Regions from separate parts of the Homo sapiens genome. Here region 1 is linked to region 2. Evidence: promoter capture Hi-C in 16 types of primary human blood cells and fetal thymus (Javierre and others, 2016). All regions are on one chromosome and are shown on one strand. Each heading gives the region's core, a stretch centred on a gene start or on the middle of the fragment in contact. The rest is flanking DNA. Distances are from core to core; before and after follow the strand shown. Region 1 holds the start of C10orf105 (chromosome 10 open reading frame 105). Region 2 holds the start of PSAP (prosaposin).

What was found. The method cuts DNA at HindIII sites, captures the fragments that hold promoters and counts their contacts. A CHiCAGO score of 5 or more calls a contact.
Region 1: a fragment that was not itself captured here is called in contact with the fragment with the promoter of PSAP in region 2 in 1 of 17 cell types (neutrophils); the score reaches 5.1 in neutrophils.

Annotation. Positions count from the first base shown.
Region 1 is chr10:71,715,103-71,721,429 of GRCh38, reverse strand. The region is part of intron 28 of CDH23 (cadherin related 23); the gene reads right to left. It overlaps C10orf105 (chromosome 10 open reading frame 105), which reads left to right and starts at 1,652. Exons shown (of 2, transcript NM_001164375.3): 1 at 1,652-1,803; 2 at 5,088-6,327. The coding sequence starts at 5,093. The coding sequence ends at 5,494. RefSeq lists an enhancer at 1,515-2,263 and a silencer at 4,180-4,377. The HindIII fragment of the contact is 9,488 bases long and covers 334-6,327 here.
Region 2 is chr10:71,846,899-71,853,823 of GRCh38, reverse strand. PSAP (prosaposin) reads left to right here and starts at 2,573. Exons shown (of 14, transcript NM_002778.4): 1 at 2,573-2,642. The coding sequence starts at 2,603. RefSeq lists enhancers at 2,362-2,892, 2,893-3,423, 3,815-4,314. The HindIII fragment of the contact is 9,568 bases long and covers 1-4,627 here.

The sequences.
Region 1 (6,327 bases), core at 3,828-6,327, 130 kb after region 2:
GCAAAGCGTCTTGGCTGGTGCCTAGCATGGGGATGTGTGGTGAAGGTCAACATGAGTGATGCCACCTTCTCCAGAGAGCCCTCTGGATTTATGCCAGAGCTGGGGATGGCTGGATTGCCCCTTGCCGTGCAGTTCTTTCTCTCTCCATTCCCTGAGAAACCTTAGGAGCTGGCAGGTGGAGGGATGTAACAGGGTGCTTCAATTGTCCAGATCTGGAAGGGCTCAGGATGGTGAAGAGAGCCACGTTGCCCAGAGCATGCCCTTGCATGCCTATCCATGGTGAGATTTCCTTGATGCCTCCCTGCTCCAGCAGCCTGCACCACCCTGGAAGCTTTGTCTTCTGTCATCTCAGGAGGAATGGGGGCCACAGATGAAGTGTTCAGTTGGTTTCAGGAGAGGAAGTTAAGGAAAATGAAGGCAGTGAATGCTGTGATGGAAGGTGCAGGAATCCCAATGGGGACTCTGGGCATTGAAAACACCTTTGGGCCGGATGCTTTGCCTACCCTGGATGCCTACTGCCTGCCCCTGCCCACCCAGCACAGGGGAAACACCAAGTCCCCCACCACTCACTTGCTGGGTGCCCCTGGGCAGGTCACACCTCTCTGGGCCTCAGTTTGGTCATCTGAGAGAAGACGGGGGCTCTTTTCTCTCAGAAGAGGAGTTAGATGACCCCTGAGGACCTCTCCAGCTTTAACAGTCCATAGGAAATCTCTTGTCCATCTTGGGGTTGGCAGACAGTGCCTCTTTTTATGGGCAAGGGCAGGAGGGAACAGCTAAAAACCAGAAACTGGGGCTCCAAAAAAGGGAATGGGTCTGAGGCTCAGGTCTTGGACAGGGCCATGACTCCTGTCTTGAGTTGCATTTCTGGGAGCTTGGAGGTCCCTGGTGGGGAAGCTGCCAAAGACTTGGGCTCCTAAGCAGGCAGCTGGTTGTCAGGGAAGCTCTGGCTTCTGGGGAGAAAGAAGGCTGGGGGAGGGAAGTGTGTGTGTGTGTGTGTGTGTGTGTGTGTTTTGGAAAGAGCCTCCAGTGGAGGTCTCCCGTGGCCCACCCGCACTGTGGGGAGCATGGCCTTGGAGGTCCGTCAGTCCTATGCTTTCTGCCCTGGGATCCCCCTGACCTTTGAAGATGCCCCTCACCCCTCGCTTCTGTAGCCAGACACCTTCAAAGGGAAGGTGCTTTTCTACAAGCTGAGGGAAAAGCCTGGAAGGAATGGGGCCCAGGGACGCTGCAGGAGGGGCCTCAGGGGCTGCCAGGGACCAGCACTCTCCCTGCTCCCCTCCTGCCATGGCTTGTAGCCCCTCTCCAGGGTAACCTGGTGGCTGGCAGGCACTGAATAGCGAACCTCTGGCTGCCGCCGACCATACCATTCAAACTTCCGACAGGGGAAGGTGAGCGCCATGGGGCCGCAGAGGCAGTAAAACCCTCCCCCTGCGTCTCCCCAGAGTCTTCCACCCCTGAGAGGGCTCCAAGGAGACAGGCTGGAGAGAGGCGGTGGGAAGGCCAGGGGGCATCCCAGAGTCTCTGGACAGCTCCCCTCTCCCTCTTCCCAACCCAGTTGCCATCCCTACTCCCTTAGCTATCCCCTCCCCCAAGGCAGGGCCCAAACTCTTCTAGACAAAGCCAGGTCCAGCTGGGGAGTGACGGGGAGGCCACTCTGCTGGCCAGGCTGACCGAGGGCTGCAGGGCACAGCAGAGCCTGGCAGGGCTGGGGTCACAGGCACTGCCCAGGGCTCCTTGGGCCTCCCTTCCACAGCTGAGAAGACCTCTCCACGGAGCTCCGGACGGCTGGGGTCTGGCTCTGAGGTCAGTGCTTGGGGGACTGCAGGAGAAGGCTTGGAGAGGGAAGTGTGGTGGAGACCCTTGCTGGGGACTCCTGGGAGAATGTGAGGGTATGCTCAGACCTAGGCAGTCCTCTGGTTCTGTAGAGAGGGGAAACAAGGCCCAGTAAGGGGTAGGGACTAGCCCGAGGCCACACAGCAGTCTTCTCTGCCCACAGCAGGTCCTGCTCTGTGGAACTCCAAGGGAAGAGGAGGGTCCTAGACTGAGCTTGCAGAGATATGTCCAGAGCAGGGCCCGCTGGTGCACCCTGGCCCCAGTGGGAAGGGAGTGGCTTCAACTGCCCTCCAGATGATTCCTGGCCTTGGTCCGGGCAAGGCATCCTCTCCCAGTACTAGCTGGCCTTTGCTGGTTGGTCAGTAGCCGGGTGTCAAGGGGCCTGGCAGCTGGACTTGCCTCGTGCTCCAGGAAGGGTGTTGTGTTGTTTTCAAGCACTTAGGAATCTCTCGTTGCCACAGGAACTACTCAGATGCTAATTACAACTCCACTTATTTTTTTTTTATTTTTTATTTTTTTGAGACAGAGTGTTGCTCTGTCGCTCAGGCTGTAGCGCAGTGGCATGATTCTAGCTCGCTGTAGCCTCAAACTTTTGGGCTCAAATGATCCTTCTGCCTCAGCCTCCTGAGTAGCTGGGGCCACAGGCACATACTACCACACCTGGCTAATTAAAAAACCTTTTTTTTTTTTCTTTCAGAAATGAAGACTCACTATGTTGCCCAGGCTGTTCTCAAACTCCTGGGCTCAAGTGATCCTCCTGCCTTGGCCTCCCAAAGTGCTGGGATTACAGGTGAGAGCCAACACGCCTGGCCTCACTTATTTTTTAAATTAAAGCAGGTCCCAAGGCCTGAAGCCTGGATCCTATTTGCTAGCCCAGTAGGGTCTCCAGATTCCTTTGAAGGCCTTGAAATAACATTAGAACTAGTAGGATTGAGGCATCTCCCATTTCAGACTGCCCTTTTCTTACTCCTGGCCAAGCATTGTCCAGGGTAGGAGAGAGGGATGGCTGATTTTCTCCCCACGGGAATGAGCGGTGGGCACACCCCATCCCTCCTCCCTGCTCAGACTCAAGGAAAGGCCAACCCATGCACAGCTGCCCAGCCAGAGTGCTCTCTAGGCCTGATGCCGCAAAGGCGGAGGCCCTGGGCAGCTAGACGGGCATCACACTTTCCAGCCAGGCACTGGGAGGGGTCGTTTTCTGCCTGGAAGTGCTGGGAGGGGTGGTGGTGGGGAATGGGTGGGAGGTGGGGTGCTCTGCATGCCCTCAGTTGGCTGGGCGCAGGGAGCCAGGAGTGAGGTCCTGCGGCTGCTGGTGAGTGCCTGGGGTAGGGACAGGAGTCCCTCGGGTGGGGAACTAGGTGGCCCACTCCCCTCCCCACTACCTGTGGCAGGGTTTCTCTGAGCGTGACCTGACATCTTTCCTCCTCCTGAGCTTCCGTGCTAGAAACTCAACTGTTATCTAAGCTGCAAGCTGGGAAGGAGGAAAATCTGCTATCCCCCACCCTCATGAAAAGGAAAGACCCCAAGGTTAAAGGGAAATCATGACTTTTTATCAGACCCCCTGGGATTGCTTGTCCACGTCAGTAGAATTTAAATATCACACATGCTGACCTGCAAGCTGGACGTCCTCTGCTTATGTGTTTGGTTTGGCCTGTGTAGTGTTTCAAATATTTGAAAATTCATTTCACATTATTTTGAAATCAAGTTTATTTGGCTTTTGCTGTGTTCTCCCCCACCCCACCTCTCTTCTTTCTTGCCTTCAACAAATTTGAATTAGCTGCCAACATTTAAACGTCTAGAATGTTTGCCTTTAAAAAAATCCAGATTTCTGGCTTCTCTTGGGAAACTGACAGAGCTGACCACACTGGGCCTGCACTCCGGCACTGACAGCACCATTCTGGGCTGAGGCCCCTCCACTTCCTTGAGAGGGCCCAGCCAGTGCTCTCCAGGTGGCCCTGCTCATCTGTACCCTCTGGTCATGTGTTATCTGCTGGCCAGGATCTGTGAGCATTTTTATTACAACCCCAGACATATTGAGCCAAAAGCTCAGCCTGGTTTTCCATCGACAAGGACCGTCTGCTGCACTGCGTCTAATGGGATGATCTTCAGTGGGAAAGGAAATGCCCTGTCAGGTGTATGATGTCCCTGGGGGGTTTCCAGCCCCCTTGTCAACTCCTTGTGGGTTTATTTCCCACCTGTTCCCAGAGCAGCTCACTGAGCTCCGAAAGGGCTGGGGGCCAGAGGGGTGGCAAGGCCATGGGGCCAGGAGTCAGGAGACCTGCTTCTGACCTTCACTTGGCCATTGGCTCACAATGTGGCCTTGGCCTTCCCACCACCAAGCTGCCCCACCCCACCCTACTGTGACCCACAATGCAGCCAGCCAAGCCTTCCCAAGGAGTGAGCTCTGGCTTGTCACTCCCCACCTCTAAAACCTTCACTGGCTCCCTAATGCCAAATCCCCTCTTCGGACCTCAGTTTCCCACCTGTCGTGGGAGCAAGTTGGACTGCATGGGGAAGCAGTCACAGGAATCCCCACGGGGCCAGGCAGGTGAAATAAGGTGTGTGGTGGGCCTGTGGGGGAGGGTGGGGAGCTGGAGGTCAGTGCCCTGTCTACAGGGGGCAGCGGCTGCTCAGCCCCAGACACAGGGATGAGGCAGGAACATGGGCCAATGCCAGTGGTGAAATTCTGACATTTCAAGAGAATTCAGGCACCCATATATTTTTGTGAAATCTGTTATTATTTTGAAAATATTCATAATTACATTGATAAAAACATGGCAAGGACCCAACTAAACACACCCGTGGGCCCCCAGTTTGCAGCTTTGGTATTAGATTACTGCTAGGGACCCTGGCAGCTGCGGCCTCTTACCATCCATAACTCGTTCCTGGCCACAGAGCAAGTTATTGACAGAGTTGGTCTTAAGTTTCCAGGCCTAAGACCCTGTGATGATTCATGAGGATTGATTTGAAAATGCGGACAGGCCACCGCCCTCTTGTCTGCATGGCAGATGGGCACAGGGTGGAACAGGAAGAGGGCCTGAGCTTGGGCCCAGCTCCATCACTGCTCAGCTGTGTGTACACTTAGACTTGTGATGTCTCTGGACCTTGCTGTCTTAACCTGTGATGTGGCCATGATGCTGTCCAGTTTAACAGTGCCTTGCCCCCATCCACATTCCCTAGGTAAGTCTTCCCTATACCCGCTGCCCTGGGTCCAGCTGATCTGCCTTTGAGCTTCTGTCTTGTTGCTGTTGCAGGAGCCATGAGCACAGAGGGCCCCAGCCTCGCCAGCTCCCCAGCCATCAGCCCCCTCGCCTTTCTCTCAGCTCCCGTCACTCCCGGGACCCTTGCAGAGGCAACTGACCCCCTCCCCATGCTCATCGCCCTGGCCTGCATCTTCCTCCTGCTGGCCACCTGTCTGCTGTTCATGACGCTCTGCAAGCCGGCCGCGCTGGACCCGAGCCGCCGCAGGGCTCACGAGTGCATGCCCCACCACCCTGGGAGCCCCAGTGAGCCCCAGCTCCGGCTCTGGAAGCGCCTGGGCTCCTTGCGCCTCTCCCTGCACAGCTTCCGCCATGGCCGGCCCACCGTCCCTCGACAGCCCCTGCCGGGCCCCGAGGACAACCGCAGCCACTGTGACTACATGGAATCTACCAAGATGTAATGGGGTGTCCACAAACATGCCCCCACATCCCCCTAGGTCTACCTGTAGATCCTCCTGCTTCAGAGACCGGTGCTGCAGGCTGCAGGAAGACAGTGGCCCAAGCAGTCTGGGACACACACTCACCCCCCGAAGCTCCTTGCATGCCCAGGCCAGCGCCCTTTCCCAAAGATGATCCTCAGAAGAGCACCTTCCTCTCTGCAGACCCCCTCGCTGCTGCTTGATGAAAGACTTCTGGTCAAGAGATGTGCACTCGTGGTCATCTGGGCCTTTGGCCTGAGGCTCCACAGGGTACAACCTGGGGCTCGTAACCACCTCCTAGAAGCAGCACCCTCGCTCGCCACAGAAGCCTTGCCCTCCAGGTGCCAAAGCCCAGCATGGAGAAGTTGCCAAATGGCAAAGGTTCCCTTTAGTCAAGTGAAATGCTCAGCCTACACCGGGGCCAAGACACTGTCCTGGCATCTGTGCTGGCCCAGTGCTGGGGCAAAACCTCGGGGCTCTCTTCCTTGGGTTTCCCGGGTGCTGCCAGCATCTGCCTGGTGCCCTGTGGGAGCAGCTGCCTCCCTCCTGGTGGAACAGATGCCTGGGTGCCAGCTGGGAGGAGGAGCAAACAGGGCTCTCCAAGCATGGTCTTGGCAGCCGTCTTGGTGGCCCCTCTTCAGGGCACCCACGTTGGGATCAATCAGGAAGGGATTGAAGATGATCGAGGAGGCTCCCTTCAGAGGCCAGGGCGGGTGCTGTGACAGAGTGGCAAGAGGCAGGGCATTTCCAGCAGCTGGAGGTGATGCCACCTGGACTCGGAGGAGGACAGCTCACAGCAGCTCCACACCTCACCC
Region 2 (6,925 bases), core at 1,324-3,823:
GTTTCTCTCAAAAACACTGACATATTCCTCTAGGTATGAAGGAGGAATATTTAAAAAAAAAAAAAAGGAGGGGTGTGGTGGCTCACACCTGTAATCCCAGCACTTTGGGAGGCCAAGGCAGGCAGATCACTTCAGGTCAGAGTTTGAGACCAGCCTGGTCAACATGGTGAAATCCTGTCTCTACCAAAAAATACAAGAAAACTAGCCAGGTGTGGTGGCGTGCACCTGTTATCCCAGCTACTCTGGAGGCTGAGGCAGGAGAATTGCTTGAACCTGGGAGGTAGAAGTGGCAGTGAGCTGAGATCGCACCATTGCACTCCAGCCTGGGTGATAGAGTGAGCCTCCATCTCCAAACAAAAAACAAAACAAAACAAAACAAAACAAAACAAAAAAAACAAGTCCTGGTTCAGGCTCTGTTGTTAACCAGCCCTGAGATGTCAGTAGCTCTATAAGATGAGAGGGGATGATCTGAGGTCTCTGAGCGTCCTTTTGGCTTGGGGTCCTGTAACCTCTGCATGGAGCACTGGGATGCTTTGCTCCTCCATCTGCAAGGAGCTGAAGGATGGGGGATTTGTCCTAGAGCCCCAGCTCCCTTGCTTTTTTTGTTTGTTTTTTTTTTGAGACGGAGTTTCGCTGTTGTTGCCCAGGCTGGAGTGCAGTGGCACGATCTCGGCTCACTGCAAGCTCCGCCTCCCGGGTTCACGCCATTCTCCTGCCTCAGCCTCCCGAGTAGCTGGGACTACAGGCGCCCGCCACATCGTGCGGCTAATTTTTTGTATTTTTAGTAGAGACGGGGTTTCACCCTGTTAGCCAGGATGGTCTCGATCTCCTGACCTCGTGATCTGCCTGCCTCGGCCTCCCAAAGTGCTGGGATTACAGGCGTGAGCCACCGCGCCCGGCTAGCTCCCTTGCTTTTAACCAGTTGTTGTGTGGTCTGCCCCACGCTTCTGCCTGGCCTTGGGAAGCCCAAAGGTGGAGCAGCCACGAAGTCTCCATCTGGCCACTGAGGCCGACCTGTGAGGCGTCCAGTTGAGACCACATCTTGTCCCAACTCACTCAGCTGCCTCACATGGCCCACTGTGGTGCATGGGGCACACTTCCCCATCTGGCTCCCCAGAGGAAGTCAGAGCTGTGGTGGGGGCTGGGGGCACTTAGGGAGATTGCAGGGGAGCAGAACTGAAGGTTCTGAGGCCTTAGTCCCTGGGGTTGTTCTCCAGAGCGGATTGCAGATTGGAGGAAGTTGGAGGAACTGTAGGTTTGCCCTTCCTGGGTCAGGAAACCTGGCTTCGGGCCAGGTTCTATCTCTACCTGTTGTGTGACCTTGGATAAACGTCTTGCCCTCTCCTAGGCTCAATGTCCCTACAGGTAAATGACCTCTAAGTGCCTGCCCTAAGGGGCTAAGATTCCCCTCCTTTCCCTGCCTTGCGGTTGGCAGGTTCTTATCCTTCTGGAGAGGGTCATCATCATTCTCTGTTCAGGTCCTGGCAGGGGCAGCCACAGGCAGAGGGTCTTTGGGTCTTAATTTCTGAAGGCTTCCATGTCACATAAAACGTTGATTACATAAATTTGTTATGCTTTTCTCTTAAGCTGTCTCGTTACAGGAGTGTTGGTTGTGACTCTTATGATCTCTTATGATGGGTGAGGAATGGTATTACATCTTTAACGGTACCACAATGTGAGGCTTAAAAGTTTTTTGTTTTTTTTTTTTTGGTGATGGGAATCTCTCTCGCTCTGTGGTCCAGGCTGCAGTGCAGTAGTGCGATCTTGACTCACGGCAACCTCCACCTCCCGGGTTTAAGCAATTTTCCTGCCTCTGCCTCCTGAAATAGCTGGAACCACAGGCGAGCGCCACCACGCCTGACTAATTTTTGTATTTTTAGTAGAGACAGGGTTTCACCATATTGGCCAGGCTGGTCTTGAACTCCTGACCTCATGATCCGCCCGCCTCGGCCTCCCAAAGTGTTAGGATTACAGGAGTGAGCCAGCATGCCCAGCCCAGACTTGCCTTTGACCAGGTGCCACCACCTGCCCCCACGTGCCCCTGGCCAGGACTGAGCCCTGTACCCTGTTACACGACTACTTATTCTATGTGAAACCCCAAGCTATTCTATGTGAAACCCGCTACTACAATGGGCTAATTTTTTTGTATTTTTTTTTTTGTAGAGATGGGGTTTCACCACGTTGCCCAGGCTAGTCTTGAACCCTCCGCCCGCCTCGGCCTCCCAAGTGTTGGGATTACAGGCGTCAGCCACCGCGGCCGGCCAACAATGTGGAGATTTAAAAGGTATTTTACATATATAATCTCTGACCTATTCAATTAGTAGGGCTTTTCTTTTATGACCTTTCCCTTCCCTTTCTCCAAGTTCTTCCTCACTCCTCCCCATAGCCCTTCCTTTCGCCCCTCCCATTGCCCCCTCCTATTGGCCTCCCCTTCGCGCAGGCGCCCTCAGAGGCGCTGAGTCAGGGCGCTGTTGAGCTCGGGCAGGCCCGGATGGGGCGGGGTTAGCGCCTGCGCTCTGGACGGCTTTGGGGCAGGGCAGATTTATATCTGCGGGGGATCAGCTGACGCTCCGCATTGCAGACTGCGGAGTCAGACGGCGCTATGTACGCCCTCTTCCTCCTGGCCAGCCTCCTGGGCGCGGGTAAGCCCTGGGACCCTCATCCTGGGGAGGAGGTGCCTCGCAGCGTCCATCTGCCCCAGAATGGGCTGTGCCGGGCCTGGCCCCTCTGCTCCCCCTGCCCTAGTTGGCAAGGGGGCGCGCGCACTGCGCAGGCGCGTTCGCTGGCTTTCTCTGGCTTTCTCTGGGCGGCTGGGGGCTGCGGGGGGCGGGCTGCGAAAATGCCCCCGGGAGGACGGCCCAGGCCCTGGGCAGCATCTCCTTCGGGGCTCGAGTGGGTTCCTGCGCGGCTGGGGCCCCGAGGCCTTCCCTCAGGCTGCGCTTCCCACTGTGGGGGTGGGTGAGTCTTGTAGGGTGACCCCTTGGGCAGCTGTGTTGTGCCTGTGCTGGGCGCACGTGATCGAGGTGGGCTGGAGCCCCGTCCCGCAGGACACTTTGGCCGTTGGCTTCAGTTGCCTGTTTGTAAGGGTAGCGAAGCTGCAGGAAGCACATGTGTATCATCTATATTGACGTTTGCATATGTATTTACTCTGGATTCTAGGTGTTGACAAAACGAGTCAAACTCTGTAAAAATATTTTGAGATTTATTCTGAGGCAAATATGAGTGACCATGGCCCGTGACACAGCCCTCAGGAGGTCCTGAGAACATGTGCCTAAGGTGGTTGGGATACAGCTGGGTTTTACATATTTTCGGGAGGCACGAGACATCAATCAAATACATTTAAGAAATACGTTGGTTTGGTTCAGAAGGGCGAAACAACTCAAAGCGGCGGGGGGCTTCCAGGCCATAGGTAAATTTAAACATTTTCTAGTTGATAATTGGTTGAGTTTATCTGAAAACCTAGAATCAATAGAAAGAAAGTATTCAAGTTAAGATAAAGGATTGTGGAGACCAAGTTTTATTGTGCAGAGGAAGCTCTCAGGTAGCCGACTAAGAGAGCGAGCACGTTGTAAAATATTTCTATGGAAATGAAAGGGTGACTGGCTCTTAGTTGATTATCTCCTGGATCTGGAGAGGAAGGAAGGAAAACATAGGGGAAAGGGGATTCTCTATAGAATGTGGATTTTTCCCACAAGAGACTTTGCAGGGCAATTTCAAGGTATGGCAAGGAAATATATTTTGGGGTTAGATATTTTGATTTTTTTTTCCTTGTCTTATAAAATGTTATGCCAGAGTCAGATTGGAAAGTAAGTCACGATATATGGGGTCAAATAAAACCCATCTGATGAGAGTTTATGGTTTGTAGGGTATGATTCCTACACCCCTTAGATAGGAATTTGGGCAAGCTAAAAAAAATCGGAGCTTAATTCTCATAGGTATTGAAGGCGATATAGGGTTTTCTGGTCCAGTTATTTTGCCATGGGGTCCTCATTTCACTTGCTTTGAAATGTCTTGCATCTGGGTGCGGTGGCTTATGCCTGTAATCCCAGCACATTGGGACACCGAGGTGGGAGGATCGCTTGAGCCTAGGAGTTGGAGACCAGCCTGGGCAACATAGCAAGACCCCACCTGTGAAAAAAAGAAAAAGAGAAAAGAAAGTCTTGCACGCTATTGGCCGTTTTTTTTTTGTTTGTTTGTTTTGTTTGTTTGTTTGTTTTTTGAGACGGAGTTTCGCTGTTGTTGCCCAGGCCGGAGTGGTGCAATGGCGTAGTCTCGGCTAACTGCAACCTCCGCCTTCCGGGTTCAAGCCATTCTCCCGCCTCAGCCTCCCAAAGTTCTGGGATTACAGGCGTGAGACACCGCACCCAGCCCCCACCACAATGTCTGTTTTTTAGTAACTATATGTAGTTTAAGGGCTGGCTGCCATTTTTAACCTAGCTACCCAAATTTTAATAAAAAGTAACAAAGTGGATGACAGGGTTGATGCAAAACCGAAGAAATGAGTTAGCTTTCAGCAGCTCTCAAGAATGTATCTTGACCCTATACGAAGCTCTTAAATTTGTTTTACTTGTACACAATGAAAGATGATCTGCTTATAAAAAAATCATTTTGATTTTATACTCAAGCTTATACTGCAGTTATTCCATGGTCTGTATAATAAACTAATGCTGGTCTCTAAATTTTTTATACTGATTCAGGGCAATTTTTTTTCTTTCTTTTTACATTATCCATTGTTCTTGTTGACGTTGAGTCACTCCTCACAAGACCCTTAAGAGTTCTGATTCATTCACATCACCCAAAAGGGACTCAATCGTGTCTCGGGAAATATAAAATCCACCTCTGGTATATATGGGCTTATGGTTAACCACAATATTTAGTTAACCAAGGGACCCTCTTCCGTGAACACTCGGGTAAATGGGAGGTATTGTAATGGCCTTGGTTTAACTTTGCTGTCCTACCTTTAGGATTAGGCCAAAGTCAGTGCTGATAACAGTGTTTGAATGCTCCCTGGCCTTCACAGCTCTGGCCCCTTTGTGATATTGTGAAAATGTTACTCCTAAAATTTCTAGACATGATAATGAGTTTTGTTAGTGAAAGTGCCTGGTGACTGCAGCCATTGTCTGCTGCCCGAGAGGCACTTAGAACTTTCTTCGTGACACTGTCGTAGTACAGAATGCCACCCTGAATCGGGATGGGCTTTGTATTTTGTGTTTCAGTGATGTCCTGGTGGTAGAGACACTTGCTTTTGAGTTACTTTTCTGCCCATCCAGCTGCCCCTCCTTTTTCCCCACCTAAAAGCGAAAGCAAAGCCATGGCACCATGAGAGAATTGGAGAGCATGTAATCTGACCCCTTTGTAAGGAATGAAGACCTGGAGGTGCCCAGAGGTGACTCTCCCAAATCATAGACCATTTACTGGGGATGCCAGGACCAGAACCCAAGACTCCACAGTGCTCGCTTTTTCCATATCCCTCTGTCCACATGGACCTCTTAACTTTTAAAAACTTAGTGTAAGTTACATACGTGGACGATTAAGTAGACAACTTGATGAATTACCACAAAGTGAGCAGCCCCCGAGGTTGGGGAGCAGTGCAGTAGCATCCAGAGGCCCCTGTTCACCCATTCACTGCCCTGTCCCACTTGCCCCGAAGGAAACATTGTTAACCTTTGAACACCATAGATGTGAAGGCTGCAGTTTCGATCTTTTACAAATGGGATCATGGAGGGTATTGCTGTTAGGTGAGTCCTCTGGTGGAAAAAGGAGCGTGTTCATCAGCTAGGTGTAAGGCATGAGGGATGGTGCCTGGGATGTGGCAGGTGCTCCCTGAAGCTTAGATGCCCTGATAGCTGTCAGCTGTGTGGTGGCTAGCCTGCTGAATGTTGTCTACACCACGCTAAGACAGTTATGTTTTCTGGGGATGCTAGAAGGTGTTATATATATTCTTTCAATAACATGTGAATTTATAGCCTGGCCTGCTGAATATCAGTAGGAACTTCAGGTCTTGGCCTGTCAGGGATTTTGGATAAATCTCCTGTTTATTAATAGTAAATCAGTTTTATTCTGTGAAAATAAGAGTATAATTCCTGAAGAAAGAAGGGTTTGTTTTAACAAATCAGTGATTTGTCAAGTCCTTGAAGTACATTTGACAGGTTGTTTTGTTTCTTTTTTTTTTTTTTGGAGCAGAAAGTTTAATAGGCAGAAGAAAGGAGAAAGGAGAGCAGCTCTCTCTTGTGAGAGAGAGGCATCCGAAAGGGAGAAGCCTGACAGGTTGTTATTGAGATGGGAGTCTTGCTCTGTCCCCAGGCTGGTGTGCAGTGGCGCGATCTCGGCTCACTGCCACTTCCGCCTTCCGGGTTCAAGCGATTTTCCCACCTCTGCCTCCCGAGTAGCTAGGATTATAGGTGCCCACCACCATGCCTATAAAATCCACCTCTGGTATATATGGGCTTATGGTTAACCACAATATTTAGTTGACCAAAGGACCCTCTTCCCTGAACACTCGGGTAAATGGGAGGTAATTTTTTGTATTTTAGTAGAGATGGGGTTTCACCATGTTGGCCAGGCTGGTCTTGAACTCCTGACCTCAAGTAATCCGCCTGCCTCGGCCTCCCAAAGTGCTGGGATTACAGGTGTGAGCCACCGCACCCGGCCCTGACAGGTTGTTTTGAGAACAAACTATGAGAGTTGAAGTGTGTTGGATTGATTGGTGTGGCATTTTGTAGATGAGGGAAAGGAGAACTTGGTCTTCCATTTTCTTGGTGAGTGAGACCATGGGATGTCCAGGCAGCTGTGGGGAAGTGGAAGGGTAGGGCGGGGTGTTGCTGGCTGGGAACAGCACCTAATGAGGCATGCTTAGGAAGTTCTCAAGGCCAAGACCAAAGCCACTTAGACAGGTGTGCATGGCAGCTTTGGAGGCAGCTTCTAG